2 separate regions of the Homo sapiens genome follow, and region 1 is linked to region 2. The links are contacts of gene promoters, found by promoter capture Hi-C in blood cells and fetal thymus (Javierre and others, 2016). All regions are on one chromosome and are shown on one strand. Each heading gives the region's core, a stretch centred on a gene start or on the middle of the fragment in contact. The rest is flanking DNA. Distances are from core to core; before and after follow the strand shown.

Evidence for each region. The method cuts DNA at HindIII sites, captures the fragments that hold promoters and counts their contacts. A CHiCAGO score of 5 or more calls a contact.
Region 1: a fragment that was not itself captured here is called in contact with the fragment with the promoter of KIF21A in region 2 in 1 of 17 cell types (non-activated CD4 T cells); the score reaches 6.3 in non-activated CD4 T cells.

Annotation. Positions count from the first base shown.
Region 1 is chr12:40,028,306-40,034,726 of GRCh38, reverse strand. It overlaps SLC2A13 (solute carrier family 2 member 13), which reads left to right. Exons shown (of 10, transcript NM_052885.4): 3 at 6,218-6,421. Among named protein-coding and RNA genes, the nearest start is that of SLC2A13, 75 kb to the left of the region's middle. RefSeq lists an enhancer at 5,305-6,421. The HindIII fragment of the contact is 2,688 bases long and covers 1,008-3,695 here.
Region 2 is chr12:39,440,502-39,446,812 of GRCh38, reverse strand. It overlaps KIF21A (kinesin family member 21A), which reads left to right and starts at 3,693. Exons shown (of 38, transcript NM_001173464.2): 1 at 3,693-3,886. The coding sequence starts at 3,843. RefSeq lists enhancers at 3,023-3,082, 3,364-3,864, 4,683-4,752 and a silencer at 3,163-4,062. The HindIII fragment of the contact is 8,179 bases long and covers 3,181-6,311 here.

The DNA of each region.
Region 1 (6,421 bases), core at 1,102-3,601, 590 kb before region 2:
TTATTTTATAGTTATTTGTGAAAGAATACCAACTTGAAGCTATAGAATTTTAAAGAATACATCATCTTAATATTTATAATATTCCTCTGAGCTATTCAGAATGGGCTAACATGGACATGATTTGTTAATCAATAGCAAAAGTGCAAGCCAGAAGACAGAGTGGAAATAAAACTTAATTGGAATTACAGATACAGTTTTTTCATTTCCTTTTTTTAGTTTAAGACAGTATTGGATATTATTAGAGAATTTGCTAGAAAGCCCCACTGTACTCAGGATGACATTTCAGAGATTGTCAGTGAGCCAATCTTAGTGTTTCAGAAAGTATCAAGATTAACTGTGACTAAAAAGTATGAGGTGGTTATTTTGCTTGGAACCACAGTTTTGACAACATGAAGTTGGGAAACCAGTAAGGAAGTGATAGTTGACCTGTACCTTAATGCTTTCATGGCCTGTTGGGAGGATAATTGACTAAATGAGTATGGTGTCTGAAAACCTTTACTGTGCCTCTCAAAGTGAAAAGTGTCTTCTCTTAGTAGAATTCAGCTCCTCAAGGGCTACAAAAACAATTGCATGTTTTTAAAAAATACAATGTAGTGTAATAAACTTCCCTTAACTAGGATAGTTTTTCCATTACAGCTTGACTTAAAATGAAAACCACAGATCATATAGATCTTCCAGTGTAAGGCATTGGCAACTTTTTCATGTCATTTGGGTTAAGGAGGAACAGGAACATAGGGGAGAAGGGAAAGAAACAGAGCACAAATGCGGGATGCAGTTGTTCACTCCTGTACAATTTCTTCAGGAGGAGTGAGGCTTGGGGAAACCTTTGGGATGCAGAGATTGAAAAATAAAGAGAAAGCAACTTTCGATCTATCATATTCATCATAGAAAATATTTTCAAAGGATCAAATCCTTTAAAATCTTGCAGTCGAATATTTTTGCTCCTAATGGTTTTTTTTAAAAATACCTACCTTCTTGTTATCCAAATTTTTCCTGTATGAAAAGCTTACTAGTGTATGTTAAAGAAACATTAAATAAAACTTTAGTTTGGCACAGTGGTCAAAAGAAGCAGTACAAATTTACCCTTTACACATGAGGTATTTTAACTAGTAGTCAGCTATTTTAACAGTAATGCTCTTAGGGAGTTTTGATTTAGTAAGGATAGGTGTTGAGAAAATCACAGGATATTCCATTTCCTCCTAGCAGTTCTGTGTTATTTAAATCCAGCTTGCAGTTACCCAGCCCAGTGGGTGGTACTGTGTTGGGCACCTGTGCTGGGCACAATTAGGAGTGACAGCTCCCAGCCAGCCAGCTTTGCTTTTGCTTTTGCTTTGTTATTTCTGCAGTGTTTTACTGCATTTAACAGAGGTGAGGGAATAATACTTCCAAAGGGAACCTCTGAATTCTTTAAACATGAAGCTAAGGTAAATTAATGCACTTTTTAATGTGTTCTACAGAATTAATTATCAAGTAATTATTGAACAGTTAATATAGCTTGACTTACAATAAACATTTATTGTAGGAGCCAGACTTCCTGGATTTTAACTGTAGTTCTGTTGCATACTAACCATGTATCTTCTTTGTGCCTCATTGCTTTGTCTATAAAGTGGGGATAATAATGGCACTCGCCTCATAGGGTTGTTGTGAAATCATGGGAGTAAATGTTTCCTAACTGTTCTGAACAGTGCTTGGCACACGGTAACTGGTGCTACACATTAGCTGTTACTATTGCTATTAGTATTGTTGTTACTAAACAATTACATGTCTATGCTGAGATTGTGCATTCAACTAGATTTTCACATATTTGGAACATAATCATCACACCTCTGGAACTACGAAAGAGCAGATAACATGCTAACTCATGTTATCAGTTCAGAGAGGAGGTCAATGATCGTGAAGTGCAAAATTCTGTAACTTAAGGAAGCAGATATGAGAGGATTATTGTCGTTAGTTACATAGGTGAGAGCAGCAGGATTGCTTTAAAACAGGAATGAGAGTGAATGTTTAGTTCAGTGAAGAACCTGTTTGGTTTGTTGTGAGGCCCCTGGCCATCTGATGGAAGAGACAGCAGGCTTGCTCAGCTGAGCCATAGCAGGAGGTCTGGCCCCAGGAATGCAGGATCCACCATTCACAGAGCTTCCATCTCTGGAATTGAGAAGGCTTAACCTGAGGTGAAATTGGTGGGATTGTTCTTTGTTGACAGCTGGCCTAACCTTGTCTTTTGGAAGTATTCCTCTGCCTTTAAATGGCCTGCTTTGGTAGGCAGGTGCTGGTACTGCTAGCTGTGCCAGAAAATAGTTCATTTTGTAACTGTAAGTTTAGAAAATTTTAAATCTTTAGATGAGTGATCATGATGGTAAAGAACATACTAAAGATTTAAAAACTCATGAGAGCTTGGCATGTCTGCTTGACTGTGTGTTTGTCTGGTGCGCTTGCTTGTCCGTAGAAGGTAAATGGCTTTTGCCGTAAGGTGTGGACCTTGGGTGCTTGTTGTTCATGTTTACCCTGGGTTTTAAAAACATTTAGATCCTTGGTTCTCAGCCACAACTGCACATTAGCACCACCTGGAGAGCTTTTAATAAAACAACTCCCTGGGCCCAGAGTCCAGATCAATTAATCAAAATCCCTGGGGAAGGGTGGGGCCTGGAAACTGGTGGGTTTTACCAGCCTCCTAGGTGATTCTAATGTGAAGCCAGGTTTAGAAACCCTGACTTAATTTAGAATAATGAGATCTCTTGTATCAATAGGAGACTACTTGCTTTTCTGGGGACTGCCTGCCCCAGTGTATCACAATACTCTGTCATTCATCTAATTCCTGCTTTCCTTGGATTTAGAGGACTGGTAGTCCTACTACTGCCTTAGTTTAGTTTATGAAGAGCCTTCTCTTTTTGTCTCATGTTGAAATTTTTATTAGTACCACAGCAAAACAGCCTCTTATTTATCTTTCCTATTCTCCAGTCTGCACATCGTTAGAGGAATGTTTTTCTTAAGAAAGAAATTGGTTAGTTGTACCTGCTGAAAATTTAGTTGGGTGATACAGCCAGAACAAACACGTTACAGTGAATTGATTGCGTGGTTAGGAGTTCAGGGAGGTGAAACATTTTTTCCGAGCATCCTCTCTGCCTTGGTGAATGATTTCACTTAATTCCCCCAGCAGTCTTATGAAATAGATACTGTCACCTGTGTGTTAAAATGTTAAGTAACTTGGCCGAAAGCAGTGGCGCGTGCCTGTAATCCCAGCACTTTGGGAGGCCAAGGTGGGCGGATCACAAGATCAGGAGTTTGAGACCAGCCTGGCTGATATTTTGAAACCCTGTTTCTACTAAAAATACAAAAATTAGCCAGGCGTGGTGGCACGCACCTGTAGTCCCAGCTACTCAGGAGGCTGAGGTAGGAGAATTGCTTGAACCCGGGAGGCGGAGGTTGCAGTGAGCCGAGATCGCGCCACTACACTCCGGCCTGGGCAACAGAGTGAGACTCCATCTAAAAAAATAAATAAATAAATAAAATGGTGTAAGTAACTTGACCAGGTTCTTGTGGTTTGTATGCCCGGAGCTGAAGTGACACCCACATCCATTCCTGTGTCCTCTCTGTCATATAAGCTCTGATCTTGTGTATTGCATTTCTTCAAAGCCATGAAAATTATTCATATCAAAATATTTTCATCGTGAAAGGTAATTAAAACAAAATAAGCTTTCTCATTTTACTTTTAGAAGTATTAGGATACAAACGTATAAAACATTTTTTTATTGACTAATCTCTAGAAAGAAGCTTTAATATGCTTAAGGATTGGCAGGAGGGTACAAATTCCTTTTCCACACGTTAGGGCAACGGAATTGTACATTTCGGACCCAGACTCTTGCACAGATTTCAAAAGGTGGGAAGGCCTATTCTGTCTTCTGTAGCTCACTTAAGAAACACAGGCTAATATATATGTCTGTATTTTCCTTTTCTTTTTGTCTTCTCTTTTCTCTTCTCTTCTCTTCCCTTGTCTTTTTTTCTGTTTAAAAAAAAACTTGTAAAAATACTGCATCCTGGGATTTAATAGCAAGTAGCAGAGTGCAAAATATTATGTGAGCATCTTGGACCTGAAAATGATTCAGTTTCTACATTCATTTCAGTGCTTTTTGAAGTATTATCTGCTGCTTTTCTATCTTAATTCATGATCTTTCTTTGGAAAGATCATGAGAAGTGTAGATAAATGAAACATAAAGGCTTTCACCTTTAGGACTTTTAAAATTTATTTCCTAATCCAGTATATTTAGGGTCTACCTTGAAAAATCCCTTTTAAATAATGAGCAATATAGTATAAACATGTCTTTGACACAGCTCAGATGGAAGTTTTATTGATTTACAGCAATAAAACATACATTTAAATAACAGATTAAATTATACCAGTTAACATCTTAAGGGGAAGAGGCCAGAAGTACATATTTTTGTGAGCTGATCTCTGTAGCTCTCATCCGAGGACTCTTCCAGAAGAGACGGTCCAGTTATATCTAGAATAATGAATGGTTTGGTTGGAAGGAATTACTGAGCAAGTAAATTTGCAGAGCTAAATGACCCAGAAGAGTTGTTACCTAAGATATTGTCATATAAATCCAAAGCACAGTTATTTTCTGGTTAGTTAATGTAGAAAGTTTAGATATACAGGTGCTTATGTGTTATTTCATAAAATATGTACTCAATGCCTACTGTGTGCAAGTTAACTAAATGCTATGTTGAATACAAAGTTAAATAATATTAAGCAATTGATTGGGATAGCTAAATAATGTATTATAATACAAGATACAAAGACATAAATTAAGGTTAAACTGTGTGCTCTGTGGGTGAGCAGAGGCAGGAGTGACTAAATATTGGTGTAATTATCACAATCCATGGCCTAAAGCGTAAGACACCTCCAATAAGATTTAACACTGCAGGCCAACTGATTCATTTAGCCATTCATTCATAAATAGTTTATTTACTTTCCATATCCTGGTTAATTTTTCTGTTTCCATGTGTAGTTTAAGTTTGTAATTTGTAGTAGGAGGTATTCTTACTACCCATGTAATAATCATATTTTTTCTTCTACTGGTTTTTTAATTAAAATGAAATTGCTTGGAAAATAGCAGACTTATTTTGTGAGATTTATCTCTGGAGCCTTTAAGGCTACTATCAGTTTAGCATAGCTTAAAAGGTAGAATAGCTTTGAAAAATATATTGAGCCAAGTGACTTCCATGACTTATGCATATCAGTGTGGTTTGTTATAGAAATAGAATTGGCCTCCTGAGCTCTATTGTTAGGAATCTACCCTAGAACATACCTAGAGAAGTTGGATTAACAGAAAACATTCAGGTATCGTAGATGCATGGAAGTTTCCATTTGAAAGACAGCTTAAATTTTATCTAATTCAGCCCCTTTGGTTCAAAAAGATGGAGGCCTTAGAGATGTTAGGAAATCAGTCTGGTGATCATAATTTGGAGAGATCTTTGATATAGATATACTCATTACTATTTTTGTTATTTCTTGGAGGGAGTTAAAATGATATTGTTGTTTGCTATTTTGAATTTTGCCAGCCATTAAGAATAGATATTTAAAGAGATAACAGTTAACTTACAACAACATGAGCAGATTTTTATTAGGATTATTGATTTCTGACTCCATCTTTTTTTTTCCTGTGGGCCCCCATTCCTCAGTTAATGATGATGAACATGATGCTTGATGGCAAAATGAAATAGGAAAATTGTAACAACAAAATTATAACTAATGATTCACAAGTCAGAAATAACTATAAAGAAACAAATTTGGGCACTTATTTTAATGAAAAGTGTGCCTTTTAAGCAGATATCAGAAAGTTTTATCGTAGCCCCATTTTATATTGTAAAATACAAAATTACATATGTTAGCCTTACATAGGAATGGTGATTATGATGTTTTGCTTAATATATTTGGGTTAGAATGTGTATACATAATGACTGTAGCTTTTGCTCATTCTTTTTCAATGTAATTTGTGGGAAAGGTAGAGAAATAATTAGATTTTTCTCATTTTTTAATTTTCAGTGCAGCACAAAAATATCCTTTTTTCCTAGTGACAGACACACACATAAATGCACAAATAATTCTGGCTAACTTCACAGTAAGTATTATTGTTGTCAACACAACACAAAAGTATGTGGTGAGCACATGATGGTAAGAGCAAATTTTACAGTAAATGTGGATTTTTTTTCTTTGCAGGTACATGTTGGGACTTGCAGCAGTTCCGGCGGTTATACAGTTTTTTGGCTTTCTCTTTTTGCCTGAAAGCCCTCGATGGCTTATTCAGAAAGGACAGACTCAGAAGGCCCGTAGAATTTTATCTCAGATGCGTGGTAACCAGACCATTGATGAGGAATATGATAGCATCAAAAACAACATTGAAGAGGAGGAAAAAGAGGTTGG
Region 2 (6,311 bases), core at 2,444-4,943:
ATTTGAACCCAGGAGGCAGAGGTTGCAGTGAGCCAAGATTGCCCCACTGTATTTCAGCCTGGGCAACAGTGAGACTCTGTCTCAAGAAAAAAAAAAAAACCAACAAAAACATTATTCCTGCAATATGAAGGCAAGAGTGGACTCAGGGAGACCATCCTGTGCAGTTTATATCTGAAGAATTCCTTACCCGTCCAGGTAAAATTCATCGTATTTCTCTCGTAATTTCTGTTATTCCATTTAGTATTTTCAAACATATCTTCCTGTGCTAGACAGTAAACTCCTTGTAAGCACTGACATTGTCTTATTCTTCTCTAAATCACTGTTGTCCCTCACTTTGTTTGCATATAATCACTTAAAATATTTATTGAGTCAATGATTGGAATAAGACTTAAACCACTCTTGCAGTAAAAGCTCTTCCCTTGGAACTTTCTTGAAATTAAGAAATTAAGATTATTTAGAGGAGTCATGGCCAGGCGCGGTCACTCACGCCTGTAATCCCAGCACTTTGGGAGGCCGAGGCGGGTGGATCACGAGGTCAAGAGATCGAGACCATCCTGGCCAACATGGTGAAACCCCGTCTCTACTAAAAATACAAAAAGTTAAGCCAGGCGTGGTAGCAGGTGCCTGTAGTCCCAGCTACTCGGGAGGCTGAGGCAGGAGAATGGCGTGAACCCAGGAGGCAGAGCTTTCAGTGAGCCGAGTTGGTGCCACTGCACTCCAGCCTGGGCGAAAGAGTGAGACTCCAGAGCGAGACTCCAGAGCGAGACTCCATCTCAGAAAAAAAAAAAAAAAAGAGGAGTCATAAGGAAAGGTGTTATAGCAGCTGTAAATGAATTGGAACTAAATACAAAATAGTATGTTAATTTTACAACTTTAGAAATTTGGGGAAAAATTACTGACTAGGTCATTAATGAGAATTTGAATTTCTACACTGCCTCTTCCTGAAACCATGTGCAATATGAACCCAAAGCCACAGCTGTTATTGGTGCTAATATTTTGTCCAGAAGTTCCAGCCTGGTGTCTTGGGACTAAAGTTGGCCTGAGACATATTTTGTCTGGTTTGCAGCATATGTAAATATTGTGCTGAATTAGTCGTTGGTGTTTAAAACTAAGGAGTTTTTTCATAAAGATCTGTTTTTCTCTTTTTCTTGAGAAGCAACATACATACAAGAAATAAAAATCTTGGCAGCATTGGATTTGCATTTCATCAAGGCAATATTCAGCCAGAGCTGAGGATGGCCACCACCTTTGGAAGGGGCCTGTGTCTCTATTTTATGATAGTCCTCACCTTTATCATAGTATTCATCTTGCTCTGCTCTTTTGAGCTACCTGCCTGGCTCCTGTAGGCATTTGTGTTTGTGACTCCCCTTACTGAGACATATATGTATACTATTGTTATTTAAAATGAGAACTTTTTTTGGCCAGGTGAGGTAGCTCATGCCTGTAATCCCAGCACTTTGGGAGGCTGAGGTGGGCGGATCACTTGAGGTCAGGAGTTTGAGACCAGCCTGGTAAACATGGTGAAATCCCATCTCTACTAAAAATACAAAAATTACCTGGATGTGTTGGCACATGCCTGAAATCCCAGCTACTCCGGAGGCTGAGGCACGAGAATCCCTTGAACCCCGGAGGAGGATGTCGATGTCGCAGTGAGCTGAGATCACACCATTGCATTCCAGCCTGGATGACAGAGCGAGACACTGTCTCAAAAAATAAAATAGGCTGGGTGTGGTGGCTCATGCCTGTAATCCCAGCACTTTGGGAGGCCGAGGCGGGTGGATCACAAGGTCAGGAGTTCAAGACCAGCCTGGCCAATACGGTGAAACTCTGTCTCTACTAAAAATACAAAAATTAGCTGGGCATGGTGGCACACGCCTGTAGTCCCAGCTACTCAGGAGGCTGAGGCAGAAGAATCGCTTGAACCCGGGAGGCAGAGGTTACAGTGAGCCGAGATCACGCCACTGCACTCCAGCCTGGTGACAGAGCAAGACTTTGTCTCAAAATAAAATAAAATAAAAAAGAACTTTTTTTAAAAAGAGGGTCTTAATTATACAAATTTCTCTTTAGTTTTCTTGTTAAATGTGCTGGGCCATTCTTGCTTTCCTTGCAGCTTTCATCAACAAAAGAAGCAAGGTGGCCAGCCCAGATCCACCCAGATATGGGCTTGCCAGGGCAGGGTGAAATGCAGCTCTGATTTGTTGATGGATAAATTTTGAGGCTAGGAAAGGCCCTCCAAAGAGTAGCCAGAGGAGAGCTTTCCCACCAATTTGATCTATAGAAGGATACTCAGCATCTCTGCCCTCTTTACCTCCCAGTTACATGTCTGTTAAGATTTAGGGGTAGTGAGATTAAGGGACAGAATAAATTTAAAACTATCTATAATTATATACCCCATCGGCCTTCCCATGGGTTTAAATCATCAAACACTTCTTGTTTTTCCCATAGTGTTGCAGCCTTCTCTGAGCCACACTGCTGTATCACTGCTGAACAAGATGATTAGGTATGTGATTGTAGATTGCAGGCATTTGAGGTAGTGCCTTTATTTGGATAGTGCCATTTAATTTGTGATACTATTTCGTATGAAGCCACATGTTTGTTTATAGAGATGTATGGAGCAGTCCACAAAAGATACTCTGTGGCAAAGCTAATAAAGGCTGTTTCCACAGAGCTATCTGAAGGCATGTGGAAGCACAATAGTGACAAACAGAAACCACAATGGGTCAATGTTGAGAGAATCCTGGGATTGGGAGGTGCTTTTTAAAGGCCAGAAGGGAAAGAAAATCAGTTTGGAAGGATTTACTACACAGCAGGTCTTGGTGGATATATTCAGTTCTGGGAACACTTGGCAGTACCAGGGTGCAGTTCATTTACCAGTGTACAAATGATTGAACAGAAAAGCATTCAGGAGTCTCGAATAAATCATTTCCATATCCCACCCGAGCTGGTAAACGGGCGATGAACTGTAGAACAGCCCAGCTGTCCAGAGACAGTGGACAAACCTGGGAGTCCGTTTAGCATGAATGACTGACTCCGGGGAGGGAGGAGGGAGGGCGTTCAGCTGGGGGCTAGGGAAGGGGGTCAAAGTCCAAGCTGCAGAGAGGACAATAAGGCTATGCGTGGGACACAAAGCCGAACCGCAGCAGCAGCTGCCTGGCTCCCGGCGCGCCGCTGAATCAAGCTTCGATTTGAGAAGGGACCTGGCAGCAGCGCGTGCACTAGCTGCTTCCTTCTCCCAGAAGAGCCTGGAAGGGCGCACAGGCTGGTCGCCCTCGGGCGAGGGCAGCCGGCGGCAGGCATCCCTCCCCCTCGCCTCCCTGCCCAGCAGCGCCAGGCAGTGTCCCGACGAGGGCAGGGCGGGGCGCAGGCTGGGGGAGGGCGAGGTGGGGCTGAGCCGCGCGGCGGCGGCTGACGCAGTGCGGGGCGAGGAGCCCGGAGCGCCCTGGCGGGCGTGGAGTCCCCAGCCTGGCCGCTGGGAGGCCGCGTCCCCACCGGAGGGGGCAGGGCGCACTCACCCGGCCGCCCTGAGGCCGCTGGCGGCCTGTTGGCTTCTCCACAGGCGCGCTCGCCGTTCAAGCGCGCTTTGTCCCCGCCCCAGATCCTGGGGGGTGAGCGGTGGAGAAGGGGCGGGCGCCCGCGAGCCGTGAATCACCTCCTCCTCTTGCTGCCTCAGCGCCGCCGCCACCTTTCCATTCAGTCGCCCAACATGGCTGGAGCGCGGCGGAGGTGAGCCGGCCGCCCGCCCGCAGACGCCCCAGCCTACTGCGCCCGAGTCCCGCGGCCCCAGTGGCGCCTCAGCTCTGCGGTGCCGAGGCCCAACGGCTCGATCGCTGCCCGCCGCCAGCATGTTGGGCGCCCCGGACGAGAGCTCCGTGCGGGTGGCTGTCAGGTGAGGACAGTCTGCCGGCGGCGGGCGGCGGGCGGCGGGTTGAGGGCGCGGCAAGGACCTGGCTGTGGCGCGGAGCACCGGCTACCGGGGTGGAGCGACCTGAGGGGCGTCCCGGCCGGGTTCTGCGGCTGAGGAAACTGAGGCAGTGAGTCCCCGCTGGCCTGGCACGCGCGGCCGGGTGCTGGCAGGGCGACTGCGCCGCCCTCACGCCGTCTGTGTTTGCAGGTGGCTGGCGGCTGCGCGGCGCCGGGTCCCTGGGGGGCGTCTTGACTTCTCTGGGGGAAAAGCCCTCGTCACTCCCCTCCGTCCCCTCGCGGGATCAGTCACCTCAGGTCTGGCCGCCTTGGGCTATCGCCTGTCCGGGAGGAGCTGCCTGTGCGCGGGGCTGTGGTGTTCTTTTTTATTAGTTCTAGAATGTCTGTCATACGTGTCCATGCAGCTCCGGCCTTCCCAGGCAGGAGACAAAGCATCTGACTATCAGCGCCGGCGACCGCAGGGCCCGCCGCGCGCCCACTCGGGTTCTGATGTCTGTGCAAATGAGACATCTTTTTCAGCATCACGGGGATCTAGACATGCCCCCGCGTGTGGGTAGAGGAGACAGATCTAGCCTCTTGGGTGTTGGAATGGGAGTGGAATTTAAGGTAAAATCCACTGGGGAGAGGTCTACAGAAGGAGGAAAACTCTTTAGCCAGAGGAAGGGTGAAATGGGTGACTGTGTGAAACATACTGACATTAGGCAGGGTGGATACAATGTAATCGTAACGTTACCCAGGCCAGGGTGTGAGTCTGGAAATACTAGGTACATCCTAGTATTGAAATTATATTTCGGCCAATGACAGGCACGAGTATTCGATGTAATTTCGGCTGTTTTGATACTTATCAAGAAGGAAAGCTCTGATAGTTGCTCATGGAAAATTGCAACATCATCACACTGTGTGAAAAATTAATGAAGCATTCATCCTAGAGTAAGTGCGTGGCTTTCACAGCTCTGAGAGTCTACTGTTAATTCACTTCTCCTTATTTATGCTTTAAGGATTATAAAAATAATCTACACTCCAAGGAATTAGGAACTATTAACAATCTCCCAGTCTTGTAGTCTTTCCAGAAAATTATTCTAAAAATTCTCCCCTCTAAACATTTCTATAGTTACTATTTTAGTGACACATCTTGGGTCAGGCATAGTAATGGCTGTTTCGTATACTTTGTATCTTTAATTAACTTAAATAATAAAATGAGTTTTTAAGTGTTTTTTTTTTTTTTTTTTTTACCACCCAGGGAGGTGACAGTTTTATGACTGGTTAGAATCACCTGTTATAAGGCTTTTGAAGTTTTAATTAGGCCTTCTTCGTTATTCTAGGGCTACTTATCCAATTGTTAGATTAGTCTGTTTCTCCTATTCACTGCTACTACCTCTCTTTTGGCCCTTTAATACCAGTTAATGACTGCACCAGGGTGGAGAAAGGGGAAGGAAAAAGACAGAAAACCCAATAAGAGGCAATTTTGTTAGGAGATCTGATCAAGGAAAGTGAAGAAGGTGCATAAAATATTACTGAAAACAGACAATTTGTCTGTTTTTAGACGTTTGAGATTTTTATATGTGAATTCTCTAGACTATCACAAGGCAGTTTGTTGACCATTCTGTTAAATCCGATGCTTCTTTGCCTGTAGAGCCATGGATGACCCTAAAGTGATGCTGACTGATAAATAACTTGTATTTTGTTTTGGTGTGTATGTTAGGACTTTTTAGGTGAATGAATGTGGGTTTGATTTTTGGGGAAAGGCTTTATAAAAACTTCAACATAACTTAGTAAGCCATATTGTAAAGATTCAATTTGTTGAATTCAGGATTCCTTCCTTCCTTCCTTCTTTCCTTTCTCTTTCTCTCTTCTTTCCTTTCTTCTTTCTTTTTTTTGAGATAGGGTTTTGCTGTGTCACCCAGGCTAGAGTGTCGTGGTGCCATCATAGCTCACTGCAGCCTCAACCTCATGGGCTCAAGCAATCCTCTAATCTCAGCCTGCTGAGTAGCTGAGATCACAGGCATGTGCCACACTGCTTGGCTAATTTTTATACATTTTTGTAGATATGGGGCCTCCCTATGTTTCCCAGAGTGGTCTTGTACTCCTGGGCTCAAGCCGTCCCTCCCAAATTGCTGGGATTACAGGCATTAGCCACTGCGCCTGGATAAATCGGGGATTTCTTTCATTAAATACATTGTTCTCTGAACAGAGCTACCTTGTAAACTTACTTTATATAGGATAAAAATAGCTTATACTCATATAGCACTTTAGTATTTATAAAGTGTTTGGACTTATATTGTTCATTTATAACCATTATTTATTGAAGATATATACCCGTCTCTGTTATCCTGATTTCTGGGCTAAAAGTAGTGATAATTGTTTGACTTATACTGTGTGCCGGGATTAGT